Linked DNA regions of Homo sapiens: region 2 is linked to region 1. Evidence: promoter capture Hi-C in 16 types of primary human blood cells and fetal thymus (Javierre and others, 2016). All regions are on one chromosome and are shown on one strand. Each heading gives the region's core, a stretch centred on a gene start or on the middle of the fragment in contact. The rest is flanking DNA. Distances are from core to core; before and after follow the strand shown. Region 1 holds the start of OR5T3 (olfactory receptor family 5 subfamily T member 3). Region 2 holds the start of OR8U1 (olfactory receptor family 8 subfamily U member 1).

Region 1 (6,127 bases), core at 2,680-5,179:
CTTAAAATACATACTACACTGTTACTGCCACAGTCACCCTACTGTGTAATAAAACATCAGGACTTACTTTTCCTGTTTAATTGTTATTTTATATCAATCAACCAACCTCATTTAATTTGTCTCCACTACCCTGTTTAGCTTCTGATAACCACTTTTCACTTACTTTTTACTTCTATAAAATCAAGTTGTTTATTATTATTATTATTATTATTATTCTACATATAAGTGAGATTGTGCAGTATTTGTATTTCTGTGCTTGGCTTATTTCACTCACTTATTCATCCATGTTGTCATTAATGGCAGGATTTCATTCTATTTTATTTCTCAGTAGTATTCCATTGTGTGTGTGTGTGTGTGTGTGTGTGTTTGTGTGACATTTTCTTTATGCATTCATTTGTAGATGGGCATTTAGGTTCATTCCATATCTTGGCTACTGCAAATAATGCTGCCATAAACATAAGAGTACGGATATCTCTTTGACATACTGATTTCTTGAAACTTCTACATCTCAATGAATGGAATGAATGGCCAAATCAGTGGAAACCACATTTTCAGTACTTTTAAAATGCATTCCTTTTTCTTCTTATTTCTGCCACAGACTTAATGAGGAGCTTCAGTATTCTCAATAATGCTCTCTGGAGGATAACTAATAAAGTTGGTAAAGTGAAAAGATAAATCTGTTCTTTCACTCCATGTATAACAAGCTTAAAAACAGGAACTCTGTAACCAGACAGCTTAGATGTGAATCCTGACATCACCCTTTAGAGCTATGTGGCATTGAGCAAATTCCTTAAAATTTATGTGCTGCTGTTTCCTCAACTTTGTTAAAAGATATTACTACAACCACTTCCTGAAGTTATGAGAATTACATAAGTTAATATAGTAAAAACTTTTACATGATTGTCCAGTACCTGATAAGCATATGTTAATTATTAGTATTAAATATAATTCATTCATGTACTCACTATTTATTTAATAAATATTTTGTCAGCAAACCATAAGTTCTAGGTACTCTTTTAGGACTCAGGGATACAATTTTGAGGACAAATATGCCCAATGCATGTTTTTATGCAAGTTACAATGTCAGCATCATGGTAGATCTGGATAATATATTATAAAATCACAACATCACATGCTAAATGGCAACTGTGATAAGTGAGAGAGGCTCCATGGGGTCATAGTGAGTCAAATCATTCTTTTGGGGGGAAAGGTAATTGAGCTGAGATATGTAACAAAATGTTCTATTGACTTGAGAGTTAAATATACCATTTTTCTCACCTTGACCTGAACAAATAGCAGGTCATTCGAGACTGCTTATTCACACCATTTGTTTTCTAATCGATTAGGATAAAAAGAGAGATAGTGAACTTTTCATGATGGTTAACTTGACAAGTTCTGAATGAGTTTGTTGAATGCATTGTTAACCAGATATTTTTAGGCATATGTCAGTGCATCATTTTACCTAATGCTCGCCTATTCCTTTCTCAAAGAATGACTATTTTTGCTAATTTGAAAGAGAAACAAAACAAAAAAAGAGATAGCAACCTTGACTAAAACGTTACCTAACAATTTTGACACCATAATTTGAAAAACCCTCAAAAAAATAAATGATTCTGGAATTCTGCAGAAATTTTAAATTTTGTGAGACAGCTATTTATTTAGACACATTTTTGAAGCATATTAAATTTTCTTCCAGAACATTCTCCCCAAAAGATCATACACAGGAAACTACATTTTAAGATTCTGTAATTCAAATAGCTTATTTTTTTAAGAAAATTTTGTCTACAGTGTAATCAGGGTTTTGTATCTAAAAATAGATTTATTTTTTTAAGAGGAAATTTAGTACAGATTTTGACTGCAAGCATTTGCTTATTCAAAAAAAGAGGGTTGGGTTCTCTTTGCATAATTGATTAGTAAAGATTAGAAACTGATGTCTGAAATTTTCAGTGTGGCTACTATGTTATGATTGGATCATTCTGGTTAATTCACATAAAAATATCCTTGGAGGGACAAGTGTGTGTTTTTTGAAAAAACAATTAATTTCCACTTTTAATGAATCTTCAAATAAATGTTTTAACAAAACTTACTAAAGCAGAATACGTAAAGTAAAGCCAGATGTGAGTAGAGGTAAAGCAAAATAATTTCCATTCTGTGGGCTTGCTCACTAGGTGTAAATTTTGTGGAAGGATGACATTGCAGTCATTTCTTACAGGTAAAGTAGATAGAAGATAATGGCAGGACTACGAAGTGAGCAAGGATATGCTAGTTTGTCAGACCTTAGAGCAGTCATTTATACATATGTCATAGTTTCATTCCTGGGGTATAGTGTTTCCTGAGCCTTCAGAACACTCTCAATAAATATTAGCATTCACAACCAATATAGTTTCACAATGACTACAATCAGCTTCTGTGGTTGAAAAGGGGCAAGGAAAGCATTTAATTGTGGAAAGAATTTATGATGTAGATATAAACACAGCAAAAGGCATGTTTGGAAGCTTGAGTAGATCTCAGTTTATGAAGGCACATTTAGGGAAAGTAAAGTAAAATTTGGATATTTCTTCTTAGGGCTTATAGATTGAGGAAGTAACTCCACAATGAATGCAAAAACTTTTTATCAGCCATGTAAGCATTTATCAATTCCCAGGATTCTGTAGGATTCACTTACTAGTTATAAGTGTGTAACTGATTTTTACTTACTGTGAAAGCTGTTGTTAGTAGTGTGTGGTTGGTAACAATAACAATATATTTATATCAAATAATATTTAATATAGATCTCTGAACAAATTAATTGGCAAATATGTGATGCAATTTGTTTACATTTGAAAAATGCTGCATTGGCAGGCTGCTTAATGCTTTTTTGAAACTATTCTTTGATATGCAAATACTTTAACTAAAATATAGAGATGTGAACTCTGACACTCAACATTTTTTTCAGGTTTACTCAATTTTAAATATATTCTTCATTTGTAAACCAATTTCAACATTTTCTTCACTGCCTTTTTTACTTCTTTGTTCCTCAAACTATAGATGATGGGATTCAACTTGGGAATCACAATTGTGTAAAATATTGACACTATGATGTCATGGTCTGAAGCATAGCTGGAACTTGGTCTCATATAACTGACGAGAATTGTTCCATGATAAATTGTCACTCCAGTTAGGTGAGAGCCACATGTAGAGAAGGCCTTTTGCCTTCCCTTAGCAGAATGCATCTTCAGAATGGACAACAGAATGAAATCACAGGAAATGAGGACAATCAGGATAGTGACTATCTCAATAGAACCCACAAAGTAGAAGAGTAGAAGCTGGTTTGTGTGAGTGTCAGAACAAGAAATAGCAAGGAGAGGAGGCATATCACAAAAGACATGCCTAATTTCATTGGATCCACAGAAGGACAGGCTAAATGTAGCCACTATATGTATAGTAGCATGTAAAATGCCAGCAACGTAGGAAGCAGTGATGAGTGGCACATAGACTCTGGGTGACATGCTCACTGAATACAGGAGAGGGTTGTAGATGGCTACATAGTGATCATAAGCCATTGCAGCCAAGAGAAAACATTCTGTAGTTCCAAAAGTAACAAAAAGAAGCATCTGTGTTGCACATCCGATAAATGAAATGGATTTATTTTTTGCCAGGAAATTGACCAACATTTTTGGAGTGACAACTGTAGAATAGCAAGCATCCAAGAATGATAAAACACTAAGAAAATAATACATGGGGTTGTGGAGCCAGGAATCCTCAATGACCAACACAACCAGCCCTAAATTGCCTATCAAGGTAAAGAGATAGATTGCAAAAAATAGTAAAAATAGGAAGACTTGCAGCTCAAAATCATCTGTGAAGCCTGTCAATATAAACATGGTGACTTCAGTCTTGTTCTTCAGTGGATTCCTGTATATATCCAAACCTGATGACAACTTGTCCATTTCAGTTTTTACTTGCAGGTTATAAAGGTTATAGCCTGTGAAAGTGGAGTCCATTCAATTGTATCCTTGTTTTTTTCTTGGGGCATAATAATTTCCCTGATAGTAATGGAATAGACAATGATGAAGTAATTGGAGCCAAATAGATGAATTTCACTGTATAAGTAAAAGGAAAAAAAATATGTAATTAATTTCTTGGCTAAATTTATCATGTTTTTAAAAAACCCTGCTAATTAAAGTGATTTTATTTTCCAGTTAATTTTCAGTTGAAATTTTTACTGCTTCCTCTCATATTATGTCCTAAAGCTCACAAAGATTGCTGAATGTAGAAATATTTAAAACTAAATATGTTATAGTGGAAAGCACACACTTGAGTACACTTTTAGATTTGTGATGAAGTACATGAAATGTCTTTTGTAAATGTTCACAATTTTAAAATAAGAGAAACCACACTCACAGCACAGTTGAATTTAAATGTTTAAAAATATCAAAACTATTTAATTTAAAAGGCTTCCAAATGACTAGAAAATGGGGATAAGTCAGACATACATTTCAACTTGTCGCATGCAGCAGCCTTTTTAAATAAAACCATTTCATGTCCTCTGTTCTGGCAATTATCTTGTTCCATTACATAGAAGAGCAGACTGTATTCTGGAGATAGACGTACCTTTACAAACATTACAATGTGTTTTATTTTCAGGATTTTTTCTTCCTGAAATATATATCACCTAGTTGGCAAATTTTGGCCTCTGTACCTTGTTTATCATAACTGTTTTTAAATTTCAACTTAATAACAATGTGAGATATATCTTACTAATAATTCATATGTTTGTTATTTTTGCAAAGTCCTTGGATGTATTTTATTTTATTTTATTTTATATTTCTGTTAAAAATAAATCATGGCCATTCTTTTAGTATATTATAGTTGCTTTTAGAGTTTCTAAAATTACTATGAAATAAAAATCACCAATAATAACTAATAAAAATTATAGAATATCTGGCTAAAAAATAACATTACTATATTTGCAAGAAAGTAGTGTTTGTCCTCTGGACTTCTTTCCTGATGGTATCATTCTGTTTCACATTGACAAGTATGAAGAAAGACAATTACACAACCAAAAATAAATAAATAATTAAAAGAAAAAAGGTAACAAGGTTACAGGGACTTCTGTATCTAGACTGAAAACCTGTTATTGAAACGGTTTAGTACTACATACACTAAATTTAGAGGTAAAATTAGAGGGGAGATTTAAGCAAGGTGACTTTGTTTTTCTTTTATCATGTCATAGATTATGAAAGTTTTAAAAGGGGTGACAACTCTGTCATATGCAGGTCCATTCTGAATTCAGTGACTTACAAATGATTTATATTCATGATGTGAGACATACCAAAATTTTGTCATGTTAAGATGACCACACATTAAGAAGAGAATGAACAAATAAGACTAAAACCACTTTTAGAAAGAAAAAAAAAGGCCAAGTGTTTATATATATTATTATAGAAATGTCCTAACAGATCCATGTGGAAGATTTTTTTAATATACAAAATAAATACCCTCATAAATGAGGGACTACAGAACGAAACAAAAATTCTCATTTGATTCTTAGAAAATTCTACAGCAAAAGATATAATTCAGTTAAATTCCACTTTCTGTGTAAATCCAGACTACTTACATATTACTCATGACAACACACACATACACAAATATATTAAGTAATTTTGTTTGTGTTATGTGAATAAAATAGCTTATAAAGTTATCAATAAATATTTTAAATATGAATTAATGTATTTTTGAGTCATAAAAAATATAGTTCTCTTATACAAATTCCTATCCTCTCTTTCTCCTATATTTTCTCCTTTCTCTCTCTTTCTCTCTCTTTCTTTCTGTGTTAGAAGAATCAATGGGATATATACAAACGTTTACTGACAAGAGTCAGGAACAAACAGGAATTAGCCAGATAAGAAGAAGCACGATTCAAAAAAAAAATGCCAGTGAATTTTGAAAAATGTGCTAATAATCTACCAAAGGAGTCCATTACAAAATACATGTTTACCACCACATAGAGGAGAAAGGTCAGCTACATTACAATTCCAGACTTTATTTTCCTAAGATATCTGAAATAAGGCAACTGTAGAATACTGGGAATTATATTTGGACTCTAAAACTCTATGTTTAAATGTCATGTTTAGCAGCATAAGCT
Region 2 (6,127 bases), core at 1,090-3,589, 120 kb before region 1:
GGAGGGAGCCAATCAGGAAAAATAACTAATGGGTTCCAGGCTGAATACCTGGGTGATGAAAAGATCTGTACAACAAACCCCCTGACACAACTTTACATATGTAACAAACCTGCACTTGTATCCCTGAACTTAAAATAAAAGTTAAAAAGATACTTTAAAATGATTACTCTCTCTCTCTCTCTCTCTTTCTCTCTCTCTCTATTATCAATTTATCAGCTGTGGTGTACAATAATCTTCATTTATAAATTGCTCCCTCACGTTTATGTGACTTATAATTAGTAGACTAGCACTCAAGTCTGCAGGTTCATAGAAGGAAGGGAAATGATACTCAAGTGCCTACCATGAATTATTACCCCTTTCCATATTGCTTAGTCCTATAAAAGTCTCTAAACTGAGTAACATTATTCTCATTTATCTGATGAGTAAACTCATAAGAGCATACCTAGAGCACAATGACATGTTTGGGATCTAACCACATACTTTGACTATAAGGCATGTGCTTATTCACTCGGCTACATTGCCTACTGGGTTCATTGAGTTATAAGCTATACCTTAATAAATAATGACCAGCTTACCTGAGCTTTGCTGTGCACAACTGTATATAATCCTTGTTACTGGAAAAATGATTTATGATGTTTCAATGACTGTGAATATATTTGTTTGAATTATAATGCCCTCCCCTCCTCCCTCCAGAATTCTATCCCTGAGTTACATTATTTACATTTTGGGAAAAAGTATAATGAGATCTTGTAGGCATAAGAAAAGCAGTTCTCTTAGAGAGTTAGTCTTCAGAGACAGAACAAGACTTCCAGGAAGTAGAAGGTACATTCAGTCAGTAACATAGGTGAGGTTAGAAAGCAGTACTCTTTGTATTAATAAAGACAATATGTTAAATGCATAAATATAGGACATTTTTATATTGTCATGTATTTTTTCAAAAAATTAGGAATTGAGAAAGAAAATGTTTAGACTATGTGTCTTTATTTTTCACGTGGGATATTGTAAATACAGCTTCAGAATCCTGAACTGGGGATGGACGGGGAGAGGAGTTAACTTTTGTCTGTGCTCTGCACATAACTAATTATATATCTTGATGATGACTTTTTATGCATTCTTCATTTGAGAAATAGGAAAATTGGTATAAAATATTATGCAAGAAAATTAATAATTTTAATATATTTTCCACTTGAAAAATAAGAGAAGTGTTGTAAATTCTTATAGTTACTTTTATACCTAACGTTCTAAGAGAAATTCTCTAGAAAATTGTATTACACAGCGAAAATATATGTATACATCACATATTGAGAAACAAGGATCCTGATAACTTATACTGGGAAAAAAATCATACCATGAAAGAAGTCCATTTTTCCTTACTCAAGTTACTTTCTTAATTTTATAAACACAAAACTCTAGTTTTTATTGATAATGATTTTCTTCAGAGCTTCTTTCACCTCCTTATTCTGGAGGCTATAGATTAAGGGATTCAACATGGGAATGATCACTGTGTAGAAGACAGAGGCCATCTTGTCTGTGTCCAGGGCATGGCTAGAGCTAGGCTGTAAGTACATAAAAATGAGGGTCCCATAGAATATGGTGACTGCCAGCATGTGAGAGCCACACGTCGAGAAAGCCTTCTGTCTTCCCTCAGCTGAATGCATCCTCAGGATGGCAGAAATGATGAACATGTAGGAGACAAAGACAATCAGAAGGGAGGAAATGAACATGATACCAGCACAGGCAAAGATCCAGAGCTGTTTGAAGCGAGTGTCTGAGCAAGTTAGCCTGAGGAGAGGCATGTCATCACAATAGAAATGGTTGACAATGTTGGAGTGGCAATAGGAGAGGCGGAAGGTGAGGATGGTGTGAAATAGTGCCATTAGGAAGCTATAGCTATAAGGAACTGCTACAAGTTGAATGCAGATTCCTGGAGTCATTACAACCATATACAATAGAGGGTTACAAATGGCCACATATCGGTCATAGGCCATGGAAGCCAGTAGCAAGGATTCTGATATCATGAAGGTGAGAAAGCAGCCCAGTTGAGTAGCACATGCATCAAAGGATATAACATTTTGTTTGTACAAGAAATTCCCAAGCATTTTGGGTGTAATGACAGAAGAGTAACAGAAATCCACAAAAGCTAGGTTGCTAAGAAAGAAGTACATTGGTGTGTTGAGACTTGTATCCGCTCTAATGAGTAGGATCAAACCCAAGTTGCCTACCACTGTGAAGAGGTAGATGGATAAGAATAGCACAAAGAGGGGCATCTTCAACTCCTGATGGTCTGTGAGGCCCACAAGAATAAACTCTGTCGCCTGGGTGCAATTGATGTGAGCCATATCTTTTCTGGCCATCTAAATGTGGAAGTAGAGAAAAGAGTTAAGTCTAAGTCATATTTTAATACTGTAAATCCTATATGTGGTGTTTTTATATTTATTGTATTGTAAAGAGTTTAATTAATTAGATTTATTTATTAATTTATTTAACTAATATAATGATTGTTAGCATACTGGAATTCTGGAAATGTGATGGAGAGCAAAAAGAATATAACACCGTATAAACATCTTTATATCTAAAGCATGAACTTACATGAATGTAGGGAATGAATCCTCACATAATCTTATCCTGTAAATTAGAGTAAAATTGATATTTGCTTTCTAAGAGATTTGGAAGTTTATGTTTCTTTACATTCAGTTTATGTCTGCTTTTTTATCTTTTATTAAAAAACTGATTTAATTACATTTTTTGCATTAATTTTTGTTTTCCTACTCTATTTAATGTTGTGTATCATCATTTTCTTATTCATTTTGGATAATTTTAAAATTGAATTATTGAATACCCAAATAGTATCAAATATCATGTCTCTCAACTCCTCTTTCTTCTCTCTCCCACCATTATATCTAGTAATGGAAAATAGAGCTTTCCTTAAAAACTTATAAATTTCACGCTTTGAAAATTACTATGCAAATAAATATATAAATAAAATAAGAGCCTGTGTTTCTTCACTGTTCTTCAGAGTTTACTAATAGCTCTTGAGTATTTACTTCTGCTCAATTAATCAAAGAATCCATTTCAGTTATTTGTGTTTTGTATTAATAAACATATTTATTGAGCAACATAATGTGGTAAGTAGTAACTTTCAAAAAATACTTATTTACCTTAATTTTATTCTAAATAAATTATATTTATTATATGTATAAGATACATATTAGATATGCAATATGTAAGTATATACTAGATATCCTAAAACCCTAATACAGATGGAACATTAATGTCTAATTATAGCAACATGGAAATTGATGGATAAGGACATAGGAACCCATAAATTCCAAATCTCTAATTGCATGTTAAAAACTGAACGTCAATTTTGAGTTAAAATAGGAAAAAGAAAAGAGAAAAGGGAGGTAAGTAAAAAGAGAATTTTTGGTCTTTGCACTGCTCAGACCAAACCCTTCTCAAGAAGACTAACTTTCAGACTCAAACTTTTTTATGACAAACTATAGAAATAAATACTTGTTATAAGATGGCATGGAACTAATAGATATATTGAGAATAATACTTTTGCTTCCCTGACATCCGCTTGTATTACATATTCTTTCGTTTTCTAGCGTAATCTGTTCCATTCTATTTAATTCAAACAATGCTTCTTGGGATCCTAAAAAGTGGATTTAAGATCTACTAGTAGTTACAAGCACAGTTTCAAAACCTACACACTAGTCCCCACACACTGAACCATTTTCACTAACATGAGTAGATAAGCAACTTACCTTTAACAGTTCCTAGCTATACCACCCACTGTAATCTGTAACCAAGACTGAACATTCTATCCTTAACATTTTCCTGGATTTTGTCTAACTGCTACTCTTGTAGAAGGTTATTTCAATTCATTCAGTTCTTTATTCAATAATATATAGTGGGGACTATTAATTTTCAGAGCGTGCATAGAGTCTGAAGATAGAGCAGTGAAAGAATAGATAGTAGTCCAGGCTGGAAAGAAAGCAAGCGTTATCCAACTTTACCCTATATTTCTGGTCTCTTTTCTTATCATTCGTTTTTCTCCACCTGTAAAACACAAAACCCTGAAACGTGTGCACACAAACTATTTTACTTTGAATCCAAAGGAGAGCATGCATTATATTTGAAAGGACATGTGACTTTTTATAGTATCATCTCTGAATATTTTTATTATCCCGGTTCCACTCAACTCTCCAGTCAGCAGGAGCATCCATTGTTTCAATTAATGATTGGTCTCAATTTGTCAATAACAAAATGCCTTTCCATACTTCTCTATTTTTAATCTTGCCATTCCTAGTTTCTTTCTTTACAGAAAAATAGACAGTGAAAATGGAAACTCCTACTTATCTTTCAAGCTCTGCTGAAATATCACACTTCTATGAAGAGCTACTTAATTTTTCCTTCCCATGTTAACAGCTTTCATATTTGTCTTCCAAAAACATTTTAGACATACCTAATCTATATTTCATCTCTTATTACAACCATCTGTTTCCATATATCTTCCCCTGATAGACTTTAGACCCTTTGTGGTTGAAAATCACGCTGTTTTTATTCATTTCCTAATGTAGTCTCTTCTAGATGTTAGATGATGGGGAATTAAAGATTAATTTTGGAATGACATTTGAATATTTCTTCCCCTTGCCCCTAGGTTATATTATTTTCTTTGGAAAATATCTCTAGAGACATATTAGTAATGTCTAACGAATGCCCCACTAATCCTGGGTAAAATTTCTAGCTACTGCAAGAGGGGAAAGCAGAGTTTGGGCATAGAATGTATAATTTGGTCAATAACGGAACTGTTTATTTCCAAACATTTTTAAAAATTCTAAACAGGAATTTTTAGTTACTTCAATCTAATAAGAAATATTTTAAAATCACAATGCATACCCACATATAAAATTAAAATAAAACCAGAGAAAACACTTTATTTTATAAAATGTACTCGTAATGATTTTTCTCTAATTATTGTACGGCACTCTTTAATTTTAAAAATACTTATCTCGAGTTAATATAGCAAATGTATTAGCTATAAATGAGTCAAAGCCCACCATCTTGAAATATGCTCTATTCTACCTGGGAAGAGGATACTTGTATTTCTCCTCATAATAGGTGTGGATAGCAATGACTATGTGGTTTTTGTTAGTGTCTCTTTCCCAAAGGATCTTGTTCCAGAGTATGAAGCAAGTAAGAGTATCATAAAAATTACAGTCTGTACTTCATTGGAATTGCAAGGCAGGCTAAAGATTTATTGACCTGATCTGTTTTTAAATAACTGCAGATGTGAAGCTGTTTTTAGTATGACATTATTAAGGGTCCTCTAACTTTAAAAACATTACTATATTTTTATGTTTTACAAAATATATTTGCTGTTGTAGATTTAGTGTCAATCTTCAATATTGGCTTTGAAAGGCAGGTAGCTAACTATCTTTTTTGAAAATTCTCACAAATAGCTTTCTATGAAATGTGTATCCAATTCTTCCAAGGACCTACTCCTTAATATTTTATGCATGAGACATTTTGCAAAAGCTCTGGGCATGTGCTTATGTCCTAGTCACTCCAAACTAGACAACGGATAAGAAATGTCTTGTAAATTACTGTGTGAGTAAGAAGAGTGGATTTGTATATTTTCCATATTGGCTATAAATTTAAAATCATCCCTGTAGTTTTCTGTTAAGTAAATTTCTAACAATAACAGTAGCTTTATGAACACAGTACTTTGACTGAAACAGGAAAAGTGACAAAAGCTTAGAAATCACAACTTAGTTAAATGGTGTAAATATTAATTAGGATAAGAATTATAAGTGTGTGTGTAATATATTAAGTAATTATTTGAGTACATAGTTGTTTTTTCAAATGAGAAATACATCTAGTAAAATTGGCTTAATTTTCCATCTCTGTGATTTCGTACAAAATGCCATGACTTGAGGTTTGATATTGAGATACTGAATCGATATGTGCAGTACAACATGCACATGTACACACACACACACACACGCACAAAAAAAAAAAAAAAAAAACTTTCAGAGGATGAGTGGTGATCCTGATCCTGGACTAGCCATTTGACACTAAATCCTTACCAATGAATAAAAAATATTTTAAAACTCTAAACATT

What was found. Contacts are between HindIII fragments. The CHiCAGO score rates a contact against its expected background, and 5 or more counts as called.
Region 2: the fragment with the promoter of OR8U1 here is called in contact with the fragment with the promoter of OR5T3 in region 1 in 1 of 17 cell types (neutrophils); the score reaches 5.8 in neutrophils.

What each region holds. Positions count from the first base shown.
Region 1 is chr11:56,250,056-56,256,182 of GRCh38, reverse strand. It overlaps OR5T3 (olfactory receptor family 5 subfamily T member 3), which reads right to left and starts at 3,929. Exons shown (of 1, transcript NM_001004747.2): 1 at 2,961-3,929. The coding sequence starts at 3,929. The coding sequence ends at 2,961. The HindIII fragment of the contact is 3,630 bases long and covers 2,498-6,127 here.
Region 2 is chr11:56,371,836-56,377,962 of GRCh38, reverse strand. OR8U1 (olfactory receptor family 8 subfamily U member 1) reads right to left here and starts at 2,339. Exons shown (of 1, transcript NM_001005204.1): 1 at 1,410-2,339. The coding sequence starts at 2,339. The coding sequence ends at 1,410. The HindIII fragment of the contact is 6,958 bases long and covers 1-5,761 here.